Regions from separate parts of the Homo sapiens genome. Here regions 1, 2, 3, 4, 6 and 7 are each linked to region 5. The links are contacts of gene promoters, found by promoter capture Hi-C in blood cells and fetal thymus (Javierre and others, 2016). All regions are on one chromosome and are shown on one strand. The core of a region is centred on a gene start or on the middle of the fragment in contact, and the rest is flanking DNA. Distances in the headings are between cores, read along the strand shown.

Evidence for each region. The method cuts DNA at HindIII sites, captures the fragments that hold promoters and counts their contacts. A CHiCAGO score of 5 or more calls a contact.
Region 1: a contact is called between the fragment with the promoter of ZNF839 here and the fragment with the promoter of SETD3 in region 5, in 1 of 17 cell types (fetal thymus). The highest score is 5.3, in fetal thymus.
Region 2: a contact is called between a fragment that was not itself captured here and the fragment with the promoter of SETD3 in region 5, in 1 of 17 cell types (fetal thymus). The highest score is 8.8, in fetal thymus.
Region 3: a fragment that was not itself captured here is called in contact with the fragment with the promoter of SETD3 in region 5 in 3 of 17 cell types (naive CD8 T cells, total CD4 T cells and naive CD4 T cells); the score reaches 10.9 in naive CD8 T cells.
Region 4: a contact is called between a fragment that was not itself captured here and the fragment with the promoter of SETD3 in region 5, in 7 of 17 cell types (total CD4 T cells, naive CD8 T cells, M1 macrophages and 4 more). The highest score is 6.9, in total CD4 T cells.
Region 6: a fragment that was not itself captured here is called in contact with the fragment with the promoter of SETD3 in region 5 in 13 of 17 cell types (naive CD4 T cells, naive CD8 T cells, fetal thymus and 10 more); the score reaches 21.5 in naive CD4 T cells.
Region 7: a fragment that was not itself captured here is called in contact with the fragment with the promoter of SETD3 in region 5 in 4 of 17 cell types (naive CD8 T cells, total CD4 T cells, erythroblasts and 1 more); the score reaches 10.0 in naive CD8 T cells.

The regions. Positions count from the first base shown.
Region 1 is chr14:102,318,186-102,321,750 of GRCh38, forward strand. ZNF839 (zinc finger protein 839) reads left to right here and starts at 1,561. Exons shown (of 8, transcript NM_018335.6): 1 at 1,561-1,868. The coding sequence starts at 1,581. RefSeq lists silencers at 1,621-1,720, 1,781-1,970 and an enhancer at 2,071-2,180. The HindIII fragment of the contact is 5,518 bases long and covers 1-3,565 here.
Region 2 is chr14:96,824,206-96,827,611 of GRCh38, forward strand. All of the region lies in intron 1 of VRK1 (VRK serine/threonine kinase 1), which reads left to right. Among named protein-coding and RNA genes, the nearest start is that of VRK1, 29 kb to the left of the region's middle. The HindIII fragment of the contact is 766 bases long and covers 1,345-2,110 here.
Region 3 is chr14:96,806,306-96,809,806 of GRCh38, forward strand. The region is part of intron 1 of VRK1 (VRK serine/threonine kinase 1); the gene reads left to right. Among named protein-coding and RNA genes, the nearest start is that of VRK1, 11 kb to the left of the region's middle. The HindIII fragment of the contact is 2,700 bases long and covers 181-2,880 here.
Region 4 is chr14:96,783,303-96,786,623 of GRCh38, forward strand. All of the region lies in intron 3 of LINC02299 (long intergenic non-protein coding RNA 2299), which reads left to right. Among named protein-coding and RNA genes, the nearest start is that of VRK1, 12 kb to the right of the region's middle. The HindIII fragment of the contact is 3,415 bases long and covers 1-3,157 here.
Region 5 is chr14:99,479,470-99,482,712 of GRCh38, forward strand. SETD3 (SET domain containing 3, actin N3(tau)-histidine methyltransferase) reads right to left here and starts at 1,390. Exons shown (of 13, transcript NM_032233.3): 1 at 1,259-1,390. CCNK (cyclin K) reads left to right here and starts at 1,940. Exons shown (of 11, transcript NM_001099402.2): 1 at 1,940-2,010. RefSeq lists enhancers at 521-1,022, 1,831-2,200 and silencers at 871-1,070, 1,181-1,640. The HindIII fragment of the contact is 7,554 bases long and covers 1-3,243 here.
Region 6 is chr14:96,507,777-96,511,248 of GRCh38, forward strand. All of the region lies in intron 1 of PAPOLA (poly(A) polymerase alpha), which reads left to right. Among named protein-coding and RNA genes, the nearest start is that of PAPOLA, 7.1 kb to the left of the region's middle. The HindIII fragment of the contact is 6,374 bases long and covers 1-3,472 here.
Region 7 is chr14:96,488,683-96,492,263 of GRCh38, forward strand. It overlaps AK7 (adenylate kinase 7), which reads left to right. Exons shown (of 18, transcript NM_152327.5): 18 at 1-745. Among named protein-coding and RNA genes, the nearest start is that of PAPOLA-DT, 12 kb to the right of the region's middle. The HindIII fragment of the contact is 3,884 bases long and covers 1-3,405 here.

The DNA.
Region 1 (3,565 bases), core at 311-2,810, 2.8 Mb after region 5:
ATCTTTTAATAGTCGTGCCAGGCACGTTGTTAGATGCAGGGACACAGCATGGAGGAATCGGTGGAGGTTGCTGCCCTCAAGTTTCCTGAGCTTGAAGGGGTTTAGAATATGCCACGGTGGCATGAAAATTATTTTGAGCAGAAGGCATGTGAATTCCTGAAATCTGGTCGGGTGTGGTGGCTCACACCTGTAATCTCAGCACTTGGGAAGGCCGAGGCGGGCGGATCACCTAAGGTCAGGGTTTCAAGACCAGCCTTACCAACATGATGAAACCCCGTCTCTACTAAAAATACAAAAATTAGCCAGGCATGGTGGCGGACGCCTGTAATCCCAGCTACTCAAGAGGCTGAGGCAGGAGAACCGCATGAACCCAGGCGATGGAGGTTGCGGTGAGCTGAGATTGTGCCACTGCACTCCAGCCTGGGTGACAGAGTGAGATCTTGTCTCAAAAAAAAAAAAAAATTGTGGTAAGATACCCATAATATAAAATTCACCATTAAAAAATAACACGGAAGGGATCATCGTGAATGCAATGTGAGTATTGATGAGGATGGTGGTGATCTTCCAGAACCTTCTCTGACGCCACCCAGGCCGCCAGCCTTACTTTACCGGCTTCGGCGCTCATCATACTGTGCTGCAAATGCCAGTTTCCTCCTTCCCCCTTGGGAAGTTTCCTCCTTGGGGGTCGGCACCTAGACTGTATACCCCCCAGGGCGGAAACAGCGGTTCACCCACCAGGTGCTTAAGAAGGGTTTGTGGACCAGTGGACCTCCTGCTCTCCCTGGGGAAAGGAGCTGGGACATGTGTACACACCTGCAGCTACAAGATTCGGAGGGCGCACAGAGCCTCAACCGTAAGAAGGAGAGGCGATCAGGCTGAGGAAGATGGGGCAGTGGAGCTGGATGGATAGAGAGAGGGTGGGTTCATTCATTCGTTCACTCATTCGTTTATTCATATTCATCCATCCATCATTCATGCCCTGAGCGTGCGTTGTGTTCTGGGCAGGGCCTGTGCTGGGCACCGATTGTGTAATATATCATCTCTCCCTTCAAGGTGCACCCAATCTGGGTGGGTGGGTAGAGAGAAGCTACGGTGACAAGGCAAAAATTTGGGAAACACTCTCGTTAACAATTCAAACTGTGGTCCCCTCCCAGATGTATAAATCCAAATGTTTAGGGGTGGGCACAGTACTCTGCATCTCCAGACAGCATCCTCCGCTGATTCGGATGCATGATGACGTCAGAACACTTGGATATTGTGGTAACTTTTGGGCCAGGGGCTCTGAAACCCCGAAGACCTCCCCCTGGGAGATCCGGGACAGCTCCCAGAGAAGGTGAGTCTTAAACACATCCGTGACAGGCAATAAGGAAAATAAGGGGGGTCCGCTCTGCTGATCAGCCCTAAGAGCCGCGGCGGTTGTCGGCTGGGGCGGGGCACTCCACGACTTTCCCGGCCAGACACGGTCGCCTTCCTAGGTGTCTTGGCCTGCGAGGCACTCGTAGCCCGCCCCTCTCCTAGGTGACGTACATTGGAGACGCCGTCGCTCAGCGACCCGGGTTCGAGTCCCCGCCTCGGCCGCCATGGCGGATGCGGAGCCGGAGGCTGGGGGCGGCAGCGAGGATGGCGGCGGCGGCGGCGGCCCGGCTCCTCCGGGCCAGAGCGGCAGCGTCGCACGTGTGGCCCCGCTGGGCCCCGAGCAGCTGCGGCAGGTCCTGGAGCAGGTGACGAAGGCGCAGCCGCCGCCGCCGCCGCCCCCCTTCGTGCTGCGGGACGCGGCGCGGCGGCTGCGGGACGCGGCCCAACAGGCCGCCCTGCAGCGGGGCCGGGGCACCGAGCCCCCGCGCCTGCCGCGCCTGCTCCCGCCCCAGGTGAGGCGTCGGGAGGGACGTGGGGAAACTGAGGCCCGAAGGGGGCCGACGCCCCGCGGCGGGGTAGCTGCTTGTCCGGGGAGGCCAGTATCCGCCCGGGTTAAGACTCAGGGCGTCCCCAGGCTGAGCTTCTTAGGGACGGCGTTCGGCCCCCACCTGTCACCACCCTGGCATTTTCACCCCAGGAGCCTCACTCTAGGAGCGGTTGCTCACGCTGGGCCCTGTGCCTGGAACGCCCTCGTGCCTTCTCTGCCTTCACAGCCCTGCTGGGGGCTTTTGCGTGCTCCCTAGCTCTTCTTACAGGCCTTTCACCGCTGGTTCAGCCTTTGTGGAGCACTTAGAGACCGTGTTCCCAGCACTCCCCACTATGTGCAGGAGGTGAAGCCTTGAACACACTTGCTGAAGAACGAACATAAGGCAGGTTCTGGGATTGACGGGGGCTGCTTTAGAGTGGGTGGTCCCGTAGGCCAGACACTGGAGCTGAAACATAAATGAATTAAAAGGAACCAACTTAGCTTTTCAGTTGTAAGGTGCCAAGGCCCAGGCTTGGAACAAAGTCAAGCACAATACACTAGTTCGCTGCAGGACTTAACATCCTGGGTGATAGTGACTGATTTGTAACCGCAGTACCCAGCACAGTGCCTGATACACAATGTTTGGAATATGTGAAAGCACTCTGTATACTACAAAACATCCTTTCCCAGTGGGTTTATTTCCTGGGCCACACACCTTTTGGTTGCTAGGGGGGTGATAACTAGAAGACGGTCGCCCAACTCCGGAGGGTGAAGCATAGCGCCTGAAGCCAGAGGGCCTACACGGCATCTGTAAAATTCCACCCCATTTCAGCGCTGGGGTTGTAAACAAAATTAGTCTCACCCCAAAATTGCCAAAAGAAGACAGCTTTTTCCACTAGAAGAAACGGGTTAGGGAATAGAATCAGGAACCTTCACTCGTTGAGTTTTTTTGACTGATGTTAGCTGCTTAGGGTTGTATCCAGTTAATCATCAAGACTGGAGAGTTGTCTTGCTAAGGTTTAGGAAGACCAGTGTGATTCTGTCCAGATGCCACACTATCACTATCTAGAGGTGTGACCTTGGGTAAGTCAACCTTTTTGGACTTTGGTCTGGGTCAGAAGGCTGCAAGGTGCCATCTGGGGGCAGCTATCTGCAAAGCCTCTGCTCTGCGCCCGGCGCTGTGCGGGGCCGCTCAGTTTTCAGCAGTGTTTTTGTACCGGCATTTTGCAGGTGGGAAACAAGCTCAGGGAGGTTGCGTGGCTTTGCCCAAGGTCCCTCAGGTGTGGCTGCTCTCCCTAGCCCCTGTACTCCTCACCATACCCTGCTGAATATGGCCACAGCTTTTTGGGTTTGGAATCCAAAAATGACATATTTTTCGTAAAGCAAAAGCAAACTTATTCGAGCTTAGGCAGCATGATGGGATTGTATTTTGTAGCTAATCTAATGGAGACGATATAAATTCTACCTGCAATAATATACCTTTGCAGCACATTCTTTTAATACTCTTTCAGCCCCAGCTGTGTCATGGAGGCCACAAAGGCAAACCGGATGCGTACTTTGCCCCTCAGTAGTTTATGAACTAACAGGAGATGAAACAAGACCCAGATAACTTCTAGTCAAGGCCAGAAAGCTAAAGATAGTGAAAAAGAACTGAATGTATTTAGAGAAAGGGAGATTGTTCCT
Region 2 (3,406 bases), core at 478-2,977, 2.7 Mb before region 5:
TGATAAAACCCTGGAAAACTGTATATGATAAAGTGGAACAAGCTCCCTGAATGAAAGCTCATTTCATCTTGAAAAAAGAATTTACTGTATTCCTCAAATTGCCTAGGACTGTGAGTAGCCTAAATGGTAGACTGGAATCCAGGATACTACTGTATTTTGAAAGCAAAAGGAAGAGAATGTTTCAAGAAAGAAAGAATGAGCAGTGTTGAGTGCTTCTGGGCAGGCAAATGAGATGATTCAGTGTCAGCTAGATTTCATAGCATGGAAGTCACTGGTGACCTCAGCAAGGGTTATTAGAGAGGAATCATGAAGGCGGATCTCGGAGTGAGTTGGATAAGTAGGTGAAAGGAAATATTGGCAAGTACAGACGATTATTGAAATGGCAAGTACAGACATTTGGCATTGAAAGGGAAAAGAAAGGATGATAGCAGAGATAGCAGAGGGGGATTAAAAACATTAATTTTTTTTTTTTTTTTTTCCCTCTGTCGCCCAGCCTGGAGTGCAGTGGCGCCGTCTCGGCTCACTGCAAGCTCTGCCTCCTGGGTTCACACCATTCTCCTGCCTCAGTCTCCCGAGTAGCTGGGACTACAGGCATCCACCACCACGCCTGGCTTATTTTTTGTATTTTTAGTAGAGACGGGATTTCACCATGTTAGCCAGGATGGTCTCGATCTCCTGACCTCGTGATCCACCCGCCTCGGCCTCCCAAAGTGCTGAGATTACAGGTGTGAGCCACCGCACCCGGCCAAAAACATTAATTTTTTAAAATGGCAGAGCCATAAGCATTTTTAATAGCTGATGGGAAGGATCTAGTTGAGGGAGACATTGAATATATTAGAGAAGGATTAATTAATAGTGTAAGTCTTGAGAAGGTTGGAGGGGATGGGATCCAAAGCAAAGGTGAAGGACTTGATGTTTGATAGGAGGAGGATAGTTTCTTTCAATGTGATAGGAGAGAAGGAAGCTAGGATTGGCTTGAAGTGGGTGCAGGTGGTTTGTAGGTGTGGCTCTTAGAAAGATAGGGAATTCCCATCTGAAGTTTCTGTTTTCTCTCTAAACTAGAGTAGGTCATCTGTTGATAATTATGGCTTAGGAAGGGGAATTAGAGTTTTGAGGAAGAATAAATAGAGTTTGACATAGTCATTGTAGAGGGTGGTTGCTGGACTTTTGAGGAATGACATTGTCCTTTGCAGTTGGGTGATGTATATTAAACATAAAGTTAGATATCTGGTAGTTGGGGAAAAATACTAAACTTTTTTGCTGTTTAATTTTATGGATTTAGTGAATTCCTGCTAACTACAATGTATTGTGACTAAGACATTTCTCATATACGAGGAGCTTATAAGCTTATAGGGAAAGTTATTTGTCACATGCAATAAGAGGTACAAACAGTACTGAAACTTCAGGTCATATCTGACTTCAGAAGAGATAGGTCTTTAGGTATGGGGAAAATGTCAATCAATGTATAAGGAGAGGTTAAATGAGAGAAAAGGCTTTGTGCTGGGAAGAATGGAGATAAAAATATGTTGGTTCCATGTTAATAGAATGGTGGAGTCCAGTTTGTCCAGAATTATCCTTGAATCAGAGTGTCTCTATACAGTGTAAAACATATCAGAGAAGTTTATGACTTTAAAGAAAATTTCATAAAAATACATGACCCCCTAAAGGAGTTTACATGCAGAACTATTTTGGGGAAAATTTATGAGTAGTCATTCAGTATATAACGAGCTTTATTCAGCATTGTAATTTTCCAGTTTGTGTATGATGAATTCATAGAGCTCATTAAGTGTAAGTGTCATTGTTGTGATTCATTCAAGCCTTTTTCCTCTCTTCAGCAGAAGGTTAAAAAAAAATTCCAAATTTGAATCCAGGACTTGAAGAATGCCAGTTGTCTAAATACAGTACCATATTGTGATAAATATAGCTATTGAAATTTTTAAAAATCTATTCACAAAACTTTATTTTAATATTCATAGCAGAACTTTTTTTGGAATGTTATCTGAAAAACAGAGGACCATTTTATCATCAGAGCTGACTATTAATTAGGGTATTGTTGCAGATATAAAAGTTGATCTGCCACTGAAATTCTATTTGAATATGTATAGTTCCAAGCTTGCTTTGTGTATTTAATAACTTTAGTACCATAATTACTCTGTTTACAATTAAATTTTGGTGAATATGCTAATATGGAATATACCAATGAGTGATTTCAGCAAAGGGCAGTATTGATTTGCATCTTGATGTGCTTTTCAGTTGCATCTGCATTTCATTTAATATCAGAGGAAAAGAAGTGGTCAGATTATGTAATGCTAAACTTTTTTTTCTTTGAAACCTCTCTGTTGCATTGGCTACTATAAAAGTAGACTTGCATAGAGTCAGAGGGGCTGAAATTATGTGGAAAGATTTAATTTTGTTAAAGTTTGTGCCTTTCGGTATATTCATTAATAGAAACCTTAATGCAAGCATCGGTTTCATTATTAGAAGAAACCTATAATGTACTAAAGTGATTGTTTAATTCTAATTAGTATTTTAAGTTCTTCAGAAAACTCACTAACTTACTGAAGCAAATACTTGTGATTATTTTATTTCTTTGAGCAGGGACTTCTGGTTTTAAATAATTCCTCTTTTAAGAAATTGCCTGAAAAGCAACAAGGAGATTGAGAAACAGTGATTTCATATTCTGAGAAACTGAGAAGCTTCTGTAGCCCTGAACTAGAAAATAAGGAGCTGCCAAATTCAGTGAAGGTCAAACAGGGTATGGGAGGATGCTGAAAGGGAACCTGAGACACAGATGTCAGGAAAGCTGGCAGAACTGTGTTCTCTAAAGAAAGGGGCACACCCTGAGAGGCACATTAATAAGCCTTTGTCTGGGAGAACAGGAATAGGTGTTGGCAGGCAGGGGCACTAGGGAACTTTATGGTGTGATGAAAATGTTCTGTCTGGTGGTCGCACAAGTGTATGTACGTTTGTAAAATTTTGTCAGTTTACTTTGTGCAAGTTAGTAATTTATTGCCTCTCAACTCCAAATTCACCCCTTTTTGCTCTATTTATATACTCGAGCCAGACCTTTTAAATATTTTTTCTTTTCCTGGACAGTGTTAGATTTTGTCAGTAGAAGGTGAGGAAGGGATACTGCAAGACTTAGCAGAGAAAGTGCTTCTCTTGTTGCCATGTGCTTGTTTTTTTGTTCGTTTGTTTGTTTTTCTTAATCTCTTAAGGTGTGGCTGTCAGCTCTACTTACTCTCCTGTAAGCTTCATTAGCACCCTGGTAGGCAGCTTCTTGCTCCCACCAGTATCTCGTGGGCAGCAGATTCCTGTGGATAAGCTGTAGCTCACTGGCCCTACAGAGAACTACCCTACCGCTCAGTGGGTCACTGCCACAGTCTGTCCAGTGAAGTGTTCCTTT
Region 3 (3,501 bases), core at 281-2,780, 2.7 Mb before region 5:
CAGAAGTAGGCAATTGGGGACAATCAGGATAATTGTTCTCTTCTTCATCACAGGACTACTTCAAATAATCCTTTCCTCTTTCTCCTAGCCAGCTAGGTTTACAGTGAGTACAAACCTGTTCAGACATTGTCCTGATACTTGTGGAATATGTGCTTGTTCATTTCTTTTCCAGAGTGTGAAAGCTTTGAAAGTCATTTGATGTTTATGCTTTGGACAGTGACATATAAAATTGGGTCAGGTAGATCTAGTTCAAATATTGACTGCTGTGTGACATTAGAGCAATTCAATTTAGCATCAAATCAAGGTAAAATAATACCTATCTTAGAGTTGTTGAATTAACTGCAAACTGTATACATGAGTCATTTGGTGTAATGTCTGGCCCACAGTAAGTGTTCAATAAATGTTTGTCATCATCATCATTTTCACTTTGATATACCTGAAGGTATTTTTCTCTGGAGAGGTATCTGAAACAAAACTTTTTTCAATTCACTCTCACTTCCCATCATTCCCCTCCCTCCCTCCCTCCCTTCCTTCCCTCCTTCCCTTCCTCTCGCTCTGTCAACCAGGCTGGAGTGCAGTGGTGCGATCATAGCTCACTGCCACCTTGATTTCCTGGGAGCAAATGATCCTCCTCCTGAGTAGCTGGAATGACAAGCCACCATTCCTGGCCCACCATTCTTGTGACATCATCACATGGTCTGGTCTATGATGAAATGCCTCCAACGACAGAGAACTCACTATCTCTAGGGCAGAATTTCTCAACCATGGGACTGTTGACATTTTACATGGGTCACTGTTTGTTCTCTGCACTGTGGGATGTTTAGTGGCATCTCTGGCTACAGAGACAAAATCATCTCTGGTTGAGAACCACTGCTCTAGAGACAGCCTATCCTATTTTTATTAAAGTTTTGACCATTAGAAAATTCTTTCTTACATTGAGTGGAAGTCTACTTAATTTCTTCTACTCACTTCTGCCTTTTGGAGAAATGTGGAACAGGCTGAATCCCTCTTCCACGTAACATCCTTTCAAATATGTGAAAATAGTCATCAAGTATTCTCAGTCTTTTTGATTTGAAACATCTCCAGTTCATTAGCTATTCCTTACATGGCATGGTTTCATGTCAGTTTACCACATTGGTGGCTTTCCTCTTTTTAAAAAAATTTCATTTTAAACTGTAGTGCTTTGAATTGAATTCTGTGCTCCAGACATGGCTTGATACGTGAGAAATAGAGTTGTATCTCTTGTTCTAGATATAACACTTTTCTTCTGTGAGTTAAGGGAAGAATATCACCTTCCTTCTTCTACATAATTTTATTAATATTAGCTATATCCTTTTGTGACCACATCATACATTGAACATAAAGTTGAATAAAATCCCTGCATCTATCTAAGCTATGTCTTTTCATCCTGTTTGTATGCATTAGTTTTGGGGTCCAACCATGGGAGCTTATGTTTGTCTTGTTAAATTTCTTTTTATTGAATTTAACTAACTGCAACTTTTAAAGATATTTTGGAATCCTAGTTCTTGGTTTAATTGGCAGTTTCTAGCCTAAAAGAACATGTATGTGATGATGCTATGCACTGAGATTGGAAATACAAGAGAAAGAAGTCACTCTCTCTGTCTCTCTCTTTCTCTGTCTCTCTCTCTGTCTCTCCCTCCCTCTCTCTCTGTCTCTCTCCCTCTCTCCCTCTCTCCCTCTCTCTCTCCCTCTGTGTGTGTGTGTGTGTGTGTGTGTGTGTGTGTGTGTGCATGTGATTGAAAAGAGATTGAGTATGGAAGCCTGGGTAATACCAATATTAAGAGGCAGCTGGGCAGAAAGGAAGTAAGAAAGGAGACCAAGAAGTGGTGGTCAAAAAGTTGGGATGAAAATAATAGGAGTATCTTGTAATGCTGGAGTGACTCTGTGTTAAGTACTGTGGTAGATACTTGAATAAAAAATGAATAGGACATGGTCCCTGCTTTCTGCCCCTGTTTTTGTTTAATTGTTCAGTTTATGGAACTGCCTAGTCAGTCATTCCTGAAGACTTGGAAGTCATCCTTTATTTCTCCCTCATACCCTTGCCTCTTTGGGTTACCAAGCTCCATTGATTAAAAAAATTTTTTTGAAGTGTAACAAAAAGGTGCAGAAGCATCAAGCTCAATTATTTTTAAAGTTTTACAAAGTGAACACCCTGTAATCACTACTACCCAGATCAAGATACTCATTTTCTAGCCCTCAGAAGCCCAGATTATGTGGGGATATCTTGCAGACAGTAGTTACTCCCACCCAAGGTAAACACGATTCTGACTTACATAACTATAGTTTTACCTGGTTTTGAACTCATGTGTAAATGGAATAATGCCCTCTGGACTTTTTTTTTTTTTTTTTGCTTGACTTCTTTTACTCGATGTTGTGTCTGAGATTCATTCATGTTGTTGCATGTAGTTTGTTATTTTTAAAAATAGCTCTGTAGTTGTGGTTATCTATCCCTGCATAACACACTAGTTTTGATTATTGGTTATTGCGTAACACACCACTCCAAACTTACTAGTGTAAAATAACAACCATTTTATTATGCTCATGGATTCTGTGGATTGGGAATTTGGTGGTTATGGCTTATCACTGCCCTACAATGCTTGGGGTCTAGAATCATTTAGAGGCTTCTCCACTTTCCTGTATGGTACCTTGACTAGAACGTCTAGAAGACTGGGATCATCTGATACTGTTGACCAAACCTACATGTGGGGTCAGGAGGTTTTGGCTTTTCACAGCATGTTGGCTGAGTACCTTGACTAGAACGTCTAGAAGACTGGGATCATCTGATACTATTGACCAAACCTACATGTGGGGTCAGGAGGTTTTGGCTTTTCACAGCATGTTGGCTGAGTGTCCAGAGGAAGCTTCCTGAGAGTGGCTTATCTTCAGAAGTCATATAATCTCACCTCCACCATACTCTATTGGTTGACAAAGACACAGCCTGCCTGGATTGAAGGGGAGGGGACATAGACCTCATGTCTTTATGAGAGGTGTGTCAAAGAATTTGTGGTCATTTTTAAAAACTACCACAAATTACATAGCAAAATTCATTTATTCATTCCATTTTAGGTATTTGAATAGTTTCTATTTTGAGGCAATTATGAACAATGTTGCTATAATCATATACTTATGTATATGTATGTATCTTTTGGCATACTTTTATATTCATTTTGGTTGGGTATATATGTAGGAGTAGAATTCCTGGTCAAAATGTATATGCATCTAGCTTGCTTGCTTGCTTGCTTTCTTTTTTTTTTTTTTTTTTCTGAAACGAAGTCTCCCTTTGTCACCCAGGCTGGAGTGCAGTGGTATGATCTTGGCTTACTGCAACCTCTGCCTCCCAGGTTCAAGTGATTCTCCTGCCTCAGTCTCACAAATAGCTGGGATTATAGGCGCCTGCCACCACGCCTGGCTCATTTTTGTATTTTTAGTAGAGACAGGGTTTCTCCATGTTGGCCAGACTGGACTCCAACTCCTGACCTC
Region 4 (3,321 bases), core at 200-2,699, 2.7 Mb before region 5:
AGCTGTAAACGAGAGTGATTATTGGTGATTTAATTCACTCCAGGATCACAAGGGGGTGAAATCATATGGCATGGATGCGTTTTCAATGATATATTTTTGCTACCAGGAGAGATATTAATACATTATACACGCTCAGGCATTGGTAAATCAGCCATACCAAATGATTCATTTATTCATTCAACAAATATTTCGTGGGTGTGCCAGGGGCTAGGTGAGCTCTCTGCCCAGGAATCTTCGCCTAGTGCAGAAGACAAACCACCAAATATGCAATTGTATTTGGATATTGAATTTGGTGATGGGTGCTTTAAAGGAAAAACGCAGGGCACAGAGACAGAGGCAGTGGAGGGCAGTGGCAAGGACATGGGCTATAGGGTCTGTCATCCCAAATCACGACCAGAGGGAGGCTTGCTAAAAGAAAAGCACTTTATTTGGGAACAGAGCATTGGAATGGGGAAATGCATGCTCTGGTAAACTACGTGCATACTCAGGAAGGTAAAGGAAGACAAAGGTTTTTAAAGAAGAAAAATGAGGAGGATTACACAACTGTTTGGAAATAATTATCCTTGGCTACAAAGATCAATAACAAGGGTGATGCCAATCTGAGGTTAGACAGGCAATTGCTGGGAAGATGTCCTTGCAGAAGGATTTTTTCTGCAATGGCCTTTGCGCAAGATTGTGGTTTTTGCAGTCTTTCGTGATAGCTTTTAGTCAAAGACATACAAGCAAGAGGAACTTCTCTTTATGGCCTTCCCCAGCTGTCTTTGTTAGGATTTCCTTAATATCCATGACTTCATTTTGATTCTGACAACTTCGACAGGCCCGACCAGGTGGGTTTGAATCCCAGCCCTAAACTCATTAACTATGTGCCTAAAACAACTACTTGACATCATTGCATCTCTGTTTCTTAGTTCCTTAGAACTTGGACATAGCCTTTCACCTTCAGTCATGGTCTTTTTGCAGGGTTTCAATGGACAGCCTGAAATGTTTATTAAGCTCCTCTAACTTGGCAGGACTCAAACCCCAAACTTGGTCTCCCCCAACAGTGGGCAGTTGCTGAAATCTGTGCACTGTTCTTTTAGCCTTCCAATTATTGTTTCCCCCTTGGGCTCCTTGAAATCTTGTTCATGCATGTGCAATTCACTAATCAGCCTGTGATTTTGGGGTGTATATATGGGGGTTTTAGGGCTGCCCCTCTTGGCTACCGCCATTGTGGGATGTCTGCCTTCCCTCAGTTTCCAATTGCTCTAGCAGTTCAGAACCCCATCCTCTGACTCCTCAGGGTAATAAAACTGTGGTTTTCCTCTTTTTTTTTTTTTTTTTTTTTTTTTTTTTGAGATGGAGCCTCACCCTATCGCCCAGGCTGGAGTGCAATGGCGCAATCTCAGCTCACTGCAACCTCTGCCTCCTGGTTCAAGCTATTCTCTTGCTTGGCCTCCCGAGTAGCTGGGATTACAGGCTCGCACCACCATGCTCGGCTAATTTTTTGTGTCTTTAGTAGAGACGGGGTTTCACCCTGTTGGCCAGGCTGGTCTCGAATTCCTGACCTCATGATCCGCCCTCCTCAGCCTCCCAAAGTGCTGGGATTACAGGCGTGAGCCACCGCACCCAGCTGGTTTTCTTCTTGAGTTCTAGCCACCCTGTGGCATGCAGAGTGGGAAGTGTCCTCAGTAGAAAAGTCAAATAACCAAGGCGCTCCCCCAGTGTGGCTCCTTCTTTCAAGGGTCAAATCCCCTTTGGTTTCTGCCTGCTTTTGGCTGCTGTCCTGTGGGAGGTTAGTATGATGGAAGCTACTTCACCATTACCACTGACTCTGATTTTTTTTTTTTTTTTTTTTTTTTTTTTTTTTTTGGAGACGGAGTCTCACTCTCTGTCGCCCAGGCTGGAGTGCAGTGGCGCGATCTCAGCTCACTGCAAGTTCCGCCTCCCGGGTTCACGCCATTCTCCTGCCTCAGCCTCCTGAGTAGCTGGGACTACAGGTGCCTGCCACCACGCTCGGCTAATTTTTTGTGTTTTTAGTAGAGTTGGGGTTTCACCGTCTTAGCCAGGATGGTCTCAACCTCCTGACCTCGTGATCCACCCACCTCGGCCTCCCAAAGTGCTGGGATTACAGGCGTGAGCCACCGCGCCTAGCAGGATTTTTTTTAAATCTGCACTCACTTCTTAGGGTAGCTCATCCGTCCTCATGAATGATCCACTCCCATCTCCAGCAGGCAACTAGATGTTAATAATTCCTAAGTTTTCATCTCCACCCCCTGATATCCACGTAGATTTGAACATAAAGATCCAAACATAAGCTGGGCGCGGTGGCTGACACCTGTCATCTCAGTTATTTGGGAGGCAGAGGCAGGAGGATCACTTGAGCCTAGGAGTTCGAGACCAGCCTGGGCAATAGAACAAGATTCCATCTCTTCAAAAAATTCTAACATAAAGATAGAGAAAAGGGCCTTGAACACTTAGAAATTGGAGCCAAAGAAGAAATGTTAGCATAAGGAGTTTTCGTAGAGAAAAACAGAAATCAGGACAAAGCAGTGTTATAGAAGCCAAGAGAAAAAAGTACTTGAAGAAGAAGAGAATGGTCAATTGTGGTGAATGTTGAAAGAGCCCTGGTGAGATAAAAACTGAACAATGGTAATTGTAATTAGTACCACGTGGTCATGGGTGGCCTTATCAAGGATGCTTTTGGTGGTGTGAAGGAGGTAGATGCTGCGTTAGAGACGGTTAACGTATGGCTGGAGATGAGGAAGTGAAGACAGAGATCCATCCAAAGAGAGAGGCCGGAGCTAAGCAGGTGCCATCCCTGGAGAGTCAAGAGATGAGGGTAGCAATTTCTCAAATGCACTGAGCTTCTTTCATACTTCCATGCCTTTGCATATGCCCTTCTCCCTGCCAAGAATGCCCTTCCCATCCCTATTTGCTTGAGTCATATCTACTCCTTTTTGAGAACCTCACTCAAGGGTCCAGCCTTACCCACCAGCCCCTTCCCTGCACTAGGTTGGCTATTTCTCCTCTTTGCTCATTCATTTCCTCCCTCTCACCACTGTCATAACTACTGGTGATTGAATAACATTCTTTCTTTCCCACTGAGTTTGGAAATAAATGGAAGTATAGGCATAGAACCACACAGATGATATCAAAATGCTAGCCTTATTATAGGTAAAGCTTGATTGGAGAATATGGGTTGACCTGTGGCCAATTGAGCTTCATTAGACTTTGGCTCCAGATCTAAATTTTGGGGCAACTCTGCTGAGGCCAGCCATTCACAGCCAAATGCAAGGAGTCCCTGCCCCACACCTATGAGCCTCCAGAGAGAGATTTGTCCTT
Region 5 (3,243 bases), core at 140-2,639:
AAGACTGCTTTATTTTGCTATATTCTTGGGTTAAATGTATTCGCTTAAAATAATAAACACTTCTCCGAGATTATTACTGGTTAGTTCAGTTTTGAAATACTGGCAAGGTCATTTCAAGAAGAAAAACGGGAGAGGGAGAGGTATATTTTACATAAGATAAAATTCACACTTTTCAGTGTCCGGTTCTGAGTTCTGACAAACGCATTTATAGTGGCCTCATCAGCACCACAATCAGGCTACGAAGATGGGGTAACTCTTCGAGGATTCTTAAAAGCAAAATTGATTTGTCAGCATACTTTAAAAGTATTTTTGCTTTTGAAACATCACCTTATTTATTTAGAAAAGCAAAATAACACGGTCCGAGTGGTCCTAACCCGCGAATGCCTTTGCAACACTGAAATGCCCTCCTCCCAACACCGGCCGGGCAGGGGTGAGCCCCGCAGCCAGGGGCGCGCGTCACTGTCAGCTCCTTTTCCCAAGTGGAGACCGGGAAAAGACAAGAGTTGCATCGCCGGGCTGGAGCCACGAGGAGGAAGAGTTAACGCCGGAATGACAAACTCTAAAGCACCGAATTGCCTCTCCCTAGTAGGGCACTGCGCGTGTGGAGCACGGCCAGGGGCGCGTGGGAAGAAAGACGACCTATTTCCTACGTCCGTCTTCCTAACTGGACGGCGCGGGAGGAGGCGGGGGCTGGTCCCCGGGCACCCTGGTGGGCACCGAGAACTCGCAGAGAGGAACATAAAACCGCACAGCCTTCCCCGAGCAGCGGGGTGACGGGAGGAAGGAAGGAAATGGGAGCGCGACCCGGCCGCGCGCAGAGCCGAGCCGACTAGCGCGAGGGGCCCGGGCCCCACCCGAGAGCAGGCGCGAGGGCCGGGGACAGCGGGGCAAGCTCGGGGAGAGCGCTGCCTGCACCTGGCACCACCTCGAGACCGGGTGGCGCGGGGCCCGGGAGCGTGGGCGCCAGAGGGGACAGGGCAGCGGCGAGCGCGCGCCTCTCGCCCCGCAGGGCGCCCGGGCAGAGGCCGACCGGCGCCCTCCGACCCCGCCGGGCCCTCCTCGCCCTGGCCCCCGAGCGCACACCTGCCCCTTCAAGCCCCGGGGCCACAGCGGCCGGCGGGGACCCTGGCGGGGGCGCGGGCCGGACTTCGGCCGAGGGGCGCTGGCCAGGGCGAGGGACGGCCTCGCAGAGCTCGGAGACGCGGCGCGAGTTTCCCCCGCGGGCCGCGCGGGCGCAGAGACCGCCGCCAGCACTCACCTGCCCGCTTCCCCTAGCGCAGCGGGAACGACGTACTCCGGCCCGGACCCCGCCGTCCGCCTCAACCAACCCCCAGGCGGTGGCGGCGGTGGCGGCGGCGGCGGCCGGACGGGAGGGGCGGGACGGCAGCCTGAGACGGCCCCGCGACCGCGGCCCAACGCTTCTCCTCCCGCCCCGGACCCCGCCCCCGGGCCGCAGCCGCCGCCGTTCATTGGCCCACGCTTCGGACGCATGGGCGCGGCCCCGCCCCGCCACCCAGCCGGCGTTCCGTTCGGGGTCCTCCCCAGCCAGTGGGCTGGCAGCTCCCGGGGGCAAGAGCGGCCGGCTCAGCCGCCGCCAACCACGATGTCGCAACTGGCTGCGTTCGCCCCCGCCAGAGCTTTGATTGGACGAATCTCGACCCGGGCCCCGCCTACGCGCCCAAGTTCCGTTAGCAGGTTCGGTTGCTCCAGAATGCCTTTTCGCCCCGAGGGGCGGGACCGACGGGATGGGCCCTGTGGCTGGCTCCTCCCTCTGTAAGCAGCAGCCACTGACCCGCGGGGCGGGCGGGGAGGAGAGCGGCGGCTCGTTCCTCTTTTGAGAGCTCTGCTTTCTTCCCATTGGTTGACAGGCATCCTACTCTCTCCGCCCCTCCGGTCGCTTGGTGGCGTCTCAGGACGCAGCGTGATGACGTAGGTCCCCGACATTCCATATACAAGATGGCCGCAGTCGGCAAGGAGAGACGTCGCTGAGGGGCTTGCCTGAAGCGAGGGGTGAGTGACCCACCGACTGAGGGCAGCGCCGCCCACCTCCCGCGTATCTGGAGGTCGGAGTAGGTTATGGCCAACCGCCGCTATCCACTGGCGGAGTCTCTCTTTCCGGATTCTGCCTCCCTCCGCTAACCTCCGGTACACATTGAACTTTGCGGGCGACGCGGGGTTGTGGGGCGGGCGTGTAGAGAGGGTCTGAGGCGCCGGGGCGGGGCAGGGAGGCCGGACTCACCCTAGAACTGGTAGCGGCCCTCGCACTGGGGGGCAGTCAGAGTTGGGGAACTTTCTAGGGGTTGGGCAAAAGGGGCAGCGGTGTTAACCGCGCACAGTCTCACAGCCACAGACTTCTCATATCTCCCCGATTATTTCGCGGCGTATTAGTCCCAACCTTGGCTAGGCCTGAAACTTTTTGGAGGTTGTTCCATGTCTAGGGTACTCCGACTTTGGAGTTTTGGAGAGCCACGTAACGAGGGTGCGGCTAAGATGAGGAAAAGGCACTTCCGGGATTAGATTTCGTTCTTGCCCAGACATCGTCTTTACGGACCCGCTCCTGGTGGTTGATTTGGTTTGTTATGAGAGAAATTGTTCTTTAGAAAATTGGAGCGTAAGTCTAGAGGTTATGTGACAGCTCCTAAACGATTGTCTGCCCAAGATAGGCTCGGTAATGCTCCCTAAATTTAGACTGCCAGTTAAACGGAGCTTTCGCTAAGTCATCTGAGGTTAGGAACTATTTCTAAGAGCATTTCTTAAGGGTGGTCTTCTGTGTTTTTAAGAGAAACTTGGTGATGTTTGTGTATCTCGATCTAAATCGCTGTTTACAGATACCTAGCACAATGCCTTGCAGTTGTAGGTGCCCGCTAAAGGTTTGTATGAATGATGTTGCTAGAATGAAAGCGAGGAGCTTTCAGCGCCTAGAACACTGCCTGACGTTTAATAAGCCCTCTGTATTGCTGAATGAAAGAATGGATGGATGATGGTAGTGGTAGTAGTATTGATAGACATTTGGATTAAAGTGCCCTTAGGATGCTTACCTGTTAAATAATCTTGACTATGAATATAATAATTATCCAAGATTGTCTTATTCAGAGTGACCACCGCTGGTGTCTTTTAGGGTTTTTTTCCCTCTTTTATCTCATTTCGATTATATTGTGATGCATTATTCAAGCATATTAGTTGATTTCTGGGCAAATCCTGTTTAAATTTGTTCCATTTTGAAAATGTAGTTTGCACTAACAA
Region 6 (3,472 bases), core at 746-3,245, 3.0 Mb before region 5:
TGAAAACTTGAGAAATCCTGCTTGAGAACAGCTGCCCCAAGATGAAGTAGACTTTTCAGTGGTGGTATGAGCTGTCCATGCAGCACCTCTGGTGTTTTTTTGTTTTTCGTTTTTCTTGAGATGGAGTCTTGCTCTGTTGCCCAGGCTGGAGTGTAGTGGTGCTAGCTCGGCTCACTGCAACCCCTGCATCCCAGGTTCAAGTGATTCTCCTGCCTCAGCCTACCGAGTAGCTGAGATTATAGGCCCGTGCCACCACGTCCAGCTAATTTTTGTATTTTTAGTAGAGACAGAGTTTCCCTGTATTGGCCAGGTTGGTCTCGAACTCCTGACCTCAGGTGATCTGCCTGCCTTGGCCTCCCAAAGTGCTGGGATTACAGGCCCACCACGCCTGGCCTCTGGTGGTTTTCTGAACACTGTCTGGTGGTTTTCTGAACACTGCACCTCAGCCCACCCCAACCGTCTGTGATTTAAATAAAATTTTTTTGTTGTTGTCAGTGAAAAACAATATAGTAGATAACCTTTAGGAAAGATAACAGAACTGTGGGAGATTTTGATTCTCAGATTTTAAAATTTGGAGTTTTTGTAGTGAATTGCTGCTCAGTAAATGTTGATTATGGTTTTGAGATGTGGTGTTCTGCCTTAAACATGTTTTCAGTCCATATTTTTTGGTAGAGAAGTTGGAAGGCAAGGTATTGGAGTTGAGTAAATTTATGAGCCTACTCAGTTCCTATCCCTGATTGTTTTCCTCACCTTCTTAAGGCAGAAGCCAGTTCTGGCTTGATAACAACTTTGAAAATGTTTTGGCTCATCAGAACATTCTATTCTTGGGTAACTAAGTCAACTTTAGGTTAACATTACAATTAAATTTCATCTTCAGTTTTATCTAGGCAAGTTTATAAAGCTAGCTTCTTTCAGGTAAAATGAGACCATTTGGCTTCTTAGCTAGTTCTCATTTTGGGAGGGTGTGTGTGTCTCTTTTATTCTGTATGTTCAGGGTTCTAATTACCTAGCAGCTTTTAAATAATTGGACAATGCCAGTTTATGATTTACAAAGCAGCAACATTATAGGAGGTAATTGGTTCCCCTAAAAGTTGGTTAAAGTTGAGGCTCAAAAGAATACCTGACCAAGGTCATAAAGGTACTAAATTGTAGATTGGGGCTTAAATCAGCTCTGGATTCTGTGTTGCATTGTCATTCCAGTACACTATACCATCTCCTGTGGACACTGTAGGGAACCATGTGTGGTTAGCTCAGTTGGAGTCTTTATTTATTTTTGAGACAGGAACTCACTGTTGCCCAGGCTGGAATGCAGTGGTGTGATCATGGGTCACTGCAGGCTTGACCTCCCAGGCTCAAGGGATCCTCCCACCTCAGCCTCCCAAGTATCTGGGACTACAGGCACGCACCACCATACGTGGCCAATTTTTGTATTTTTTACTGTGACAGGGTTTTGCCACGTTGCCCAGGCTGCTCTCAAACTCCCGGGCTCAAGCAATCCCACCTTGGCCTCCCAAATTGCCGAGATTACAGGTGGCTCATGCCACCATGCCTGGCCAGTTGGAATCTCTGTATAGTTTCAAGTAGAATTAATTTTCAAGCTCAATTTTTTTTGTGTGTATAACATGTAAATCTCAAAGTATTTACATAATAAAAATGTATACAAAAGTATATAAACAAAAGTAACATATAGTGTATACTTGTAGTATACACAGAATGTAACATACTATAGAACCTGAGATCTTGTGCATTGCTTAATGATTGGATATATTCTGTAAAAATGTGTTATTTTTCAGATTTTATTGTGGGAACAGTGTACTTAACACAAACCTAAATGGTATAGCCTGCTATGCACCTAGGCCTATGCACCAATGATATGGCCTGTTGCTCCTAGGCTATAAACCTGTGGCAGCATGTTACTGTACCGAATACTGTAGGCACTTGTAACACATTAGGAAGCATTTGTGTATCTAAATGTATGTAAACACAAAAGGAATAGTAAAAATACGGTATTATGCTGTTATGGGACCACTGTTATATGTGTGGTCTGTCATTGACTGAAGAATTCTGTTAACGTGGCACACGACTACTTTCAGTGGCTTTATTTGCATATATATTCTTATTTAAAGCCATGCACAGATTTGCCACTTAGACGCCGCTTTGTTGTGGCCAGTACCTTTTGTGGGAGTTGCTTTTTTTTTTTTTTTTTTTTAATCTTTGGATTGTATGTAGGCCTGCTGAACTGTATAGCAATCTCATTTGTGGAAACCTAAGGATTTGGGAAAGAAAAAATAAAGGCATTCTGTTAGATTTCTTTCTTCCTCTTTTGTTACAGAATTATTTTTCAAATTTTTATTCCCTCTATATTTTGTCCAGAAATTGGATTCTTGGATTTTACGGCAGTTTTTATAATTTTGAGGTTGATCAAGAATAGTGTTTGTCATTTTGATCATTAGAAACATTTAAATTACATTTCCTGAAATTAGTGTCTGTAATACTATGACTTACTATAATCTTGACTATTTTCTGATACATTTTCACACTCTTTCGTACTTTTTCAGGTCCTGTTTCATACTTTATTAAATTTACATTTCTTTCATTTTCAAGTTGTACTTGGCAAGTTGATGTAGCAGTGTACAATTTGGCTTTTTTTTTTTTTTTTAAGTTTCTCCTAGCCATATGAGAGAGAGGGACACAACACACACGCGCGCGTGCGCTTGTGCGCAAAGGGGCAGTTGGAAGTACCCTTTGGAAGTGAGGAAAAATAACTTGGCCATTGTAGTAATTGAACAGCAAGTACCCTTTCTCTGCATAAGCAACCTTGAATTTTCAGTTTGGCCTTGGGCTTTATCATACATACTTTATTCCCCTTGAGCATAAACAAACTATTAACATCATCTTTGAGCCTCTGCTGCTGCTTTACTAAATATTGGCTGGATGGCCCACCTGCAGTACGTTTTTAAGAATATAGTGGGATCTAAATATTTTTAGTACCACTTACACAGAACACCTTACGGTGGGCCAGTTAACCATCGTTTTAATTTCTTAGCAAATAGATTATTTTGGCGATAATCTTGCCTGTAAGCTACTATCATGCCGTATACCTTGTGAAAAAGGAGATTGTATTATTTTGGCTAATAATTAATATTTAATGCACATTGAGATACTTTAGAGAGATCCCTTGTATCTTTTCTGTTCATGTCCTTTGAATGAGCACATTAAGGTTAAGACCTTTAAACAGCAAATTCTACTGTGATGAATTGTTACTTTAAATAAGTTAACTGTAGTTTATCTGATTGGTTTCAAAGAAGAATATTTAGCAAGTTTGGCTTTCAGTTTTAACTCTATCATGCAAATAATAAAGTGTTTTCTGTTAAGTAGTAGCTATAAATTGGGGCAGTTGACTCTGTTAATATCATGGGCCACAACTTGTTCCAAATGCCTAATATCACTAGGTGGGGATTAATCAGTAGTG
Region 7 (3,581 bases), core at 214-2,713, 3.0 Mb before region 5:
ATGTATTATTCTAACATGTAGGCTAATTTACATGACTTGTTATCGCCCCAATAACAATGTTATTAGAAATGGAAATAAATTGAAGTGATTTATGCCTGTTGACTCACAGTAAATCAGACAAGATTGGTGCCTGTAAGGTGGCTTTTTTTTTTTTTTTTTTTAAATGAAGCAATGGTTAGGGAAAGGTTGCTTTGAGTTCAGGGTCAGGATCCCAGACAATGAATCGGAGAGAACTGTAAACCTTTAGGCGGAGAAATCTGCATAACAGGATAATTCCAATCTTTGTGATAAGTGAGAAGTTGCTAAATATTTTCAACACACTTTATAACATAGGCATAAGTTATCAATCCTATAGTCTTTTCCAGTTCTAAAAATCCCATAAGATTCCTAGAATTACCCTAAATGAGAAATTAGTTTAGGTTTAATGGCATATGTATTTTATCTCTTTAAATAATGTAACCTAATATAACTGCCCGACTTTTTATTTGTGCTAAAATACATGTAACATAAAATTGACCACTGTAACCATTTTAAAGTGTATAATTCAGTGGCACTAAGTTCATTCACAATGATCTGCAGCCACCACTATCTAGTCCAGAACTTTCTCATCACCCCAAATGGAAACCCAGCACCTATTAGGCAGTCACGCTCCATTATTCCCTCCCCCCAGTTCCAGGCAACCACGAATCTGCTTTCTGTCTCTATGGATTTACCTATTATAAATAAAACCATATAATGGGTGGTCTTTCGTGTCTGGCTTCTTTCACTAAGCAAAATGTTTTCGAGGTTCATCTATGTCATACAATGTGTTAGTACTTCATTCCTTTTCATAGCTGAATACTATTCCATTGTATGAACATACCACATTTTGTTTAATTGTTCATTTGTTCATGGACATTTGGGTTGTTTCCACCTTTTGGCTACTGTGACTACAACTGGCATGAACATTTGTGTGCAAGCTCTTATTTGAACACAGGTTGTCAGTTCTGTTGGCTAGATACCTAGGAGTGGAACTGCTGTCATATGGTCATCCTATGCTCAACTTATTGAGGAACTGCCACACTGTTTTCCACAGTGGCTGCACCATTTGACATTCCCACCAGCAGTGTATGAGGGATTCCAGTTTTCTGCATCCTCACCAACACTTGTTATTTTCTGTGTTTTTATTTTTTTAATGGTGATCATAGTGGGTGTGACGTGGCATCATATTGTGACTAAGAATCTTTTAATGCACTTGCTTCCATTTCGATGTCTTCTCTGGAGAAATACACAGGCATACCTCATAGATATTAAGGGTTTGGCTCCAGACCCCCACAATAAAGCTAATATTGTAATAAAGCAAGTCACCCCAATTTTTTTGTTTCCTAGTGCATATGTTATTTTTCCACTATATTTTACACTATCTGTTAACTGTGCAATAGCATTATGTCTAAAAAACAAGGTACCTATCTTAATTTAAAAATACTTTATTGCTTCATGCCTGTAATCCCAGCACTTCGGGAGACCGAGGTGGGCAGATCACGAGGTCAGGAGATCGAGACCATCCTGGCTAACACGGTGAAACCCCGTTTCTACTAAAAATACAGAAAAATTAGCCAGGCGTGGTGGCAGGTGCCTGTAGTCCCAGCTACTCAGGAGGCTGAGGCAGGAGAATGGCATGAACCCGGGAGGCGGAGCTTGCAGTGAGCCGAGATCGTGCCACTGCACTCCAGCCTGGGCGAGAGAGTGGGACTCCTTCTCAAGAAAAAAAAAAAATTATTGCTAAAAAATGCTAACAATAACCGGAGCCTTCGGTGAGTTGTAATCTTTTTGTTGGTAGAGGGTCTTGCCTCAATTCTGATGGCTGACGACTGATCAGGGTGGTGGCTGCTGAAGGTTGGGGTAGCTATGGCAATTTCTTAAAATAAGACAGCAATGGGCTGGGCACAGTAGGCTCATGCCTGTAATCCCAGCACTTTGGGAGGCTGAGGCAAGCGGATCACCTGAGGTCAGGAGTTTGAGACTAGCCTGGCCAACATGGTGAAACCCCATCTCTACTAAAAATACAAAAATTAGTTGGGCGTGGTGGCGTGTGCCTGTAATCCCAGCTACTTGGGAGGATGAGGCAGGAAAATCACTTGAACCCAGGGGGTGGAGGTTGCAGTGAGCCGAGATTGTGCCACTGCACTTCAGCCTGGGTGACAGAGTGAGACTCCATCTAAAAAAAAAAAAAAAAAAAAAAAAGACAGCAGTGAAGTTTGCCACATTGATGGACTCTTAAAGAAAAATTTCTCTGTAGCATGTCACGTTGTTTGATGGCATTTTACCCACATTAGTACTTTTTCAAAGTTTGAGTCAATCTTCTCAAATCCTGATACTGCTTTATCAACTAAGTTTATTAAATATTCTAAATCCTTTGTTGTACATTTCAACAGTGTTCACAGTGTCTTCACTAGTAGATTCCATCTCAAGAAACCACTCTCTTTGCTCATCTATAAGAAGCAACTTCTCATCTGTTTAATGTTTTATCACGAGATTGCAGCAATTCAGTCACATCTTTTGTCGTCACTTCTAATTCTAGTTCTCTTTCTATTTCCATCACATCTGCAGTTACTTTATCCATTGAAGTCTTAATCACTTCAAAGTCATCCAAGAGGGCTGGAATCAACCTCTTTCAAACTCCTGTTGATGTTGTCATTTTGACCTCCTCCCATGAATCAGAAATGTTCTTAATGGCATATAGAATGGTGAATCCTTTCTGGAAAGTTTTCAATTTACTTCGCCTATATCTATCAGAGGAATCACTATCCATGCCACCTATAGCTTTATGAAATGTATTTCTTAAATAATAAGACTTGAAAGTCAAAATTACTCCTTGATTCATGGGCTGCAGAATGTTGTGTTAATAACATGAAAACATTAATTTCTTTATACATCTCCATCAGAGCTCTTGGGTGACTACATGCATTGTCAATGAGCAGTAATATTTTGAAAGGAATCATTTTTTTTTTTTTTTTCTGAGCAGTAGTTCCTAACAGTGGGCTTAAACTATTCAGTAAACCAAGCCATTGCACAGCGGTTCATGCCTGTAGTCCCAGCTAGTCAGGTGGCTGAAGCAGGGTAGTGCTTGAGCCCAGGAATTTGAGGCTGTGATGTGCAATGATCACATCTGTGAATCACTACTGCACTCCAGCCTGGGCAACATACTGAGACTCTGTCTCTTAAAAAAAAATTTCAGTAAACCATGCTGTAAATAGACATGTTGTCATCCAGACTTCATTGTTCCCTTAAGAGAGCACAGGCAGAACAGATTTAGCTATATTCTTAAGGGCCCTAAGGTTTTGGGAATGGTAAATAGACAATTGGCTTCAACTTAAAGTCACCAGCTACATTAGTTTCTAACAAGAAAGTCAGTCTGTCTTTTGAAGCTTTGAAGCTTAGCATTGACTTCTCTTTAGGTAGGAAAGTCCTAGATGGCATCTTCTTCCAATATAAGGCTGTTTTCGCTATGTTGAAAATGTTGTTTAGTGCAGCCACCTTCTTAAATGATTTTAGCTAGATCTTCTGAGTAACTTGCTGCGGCTTGTACATCAGCACTTAAT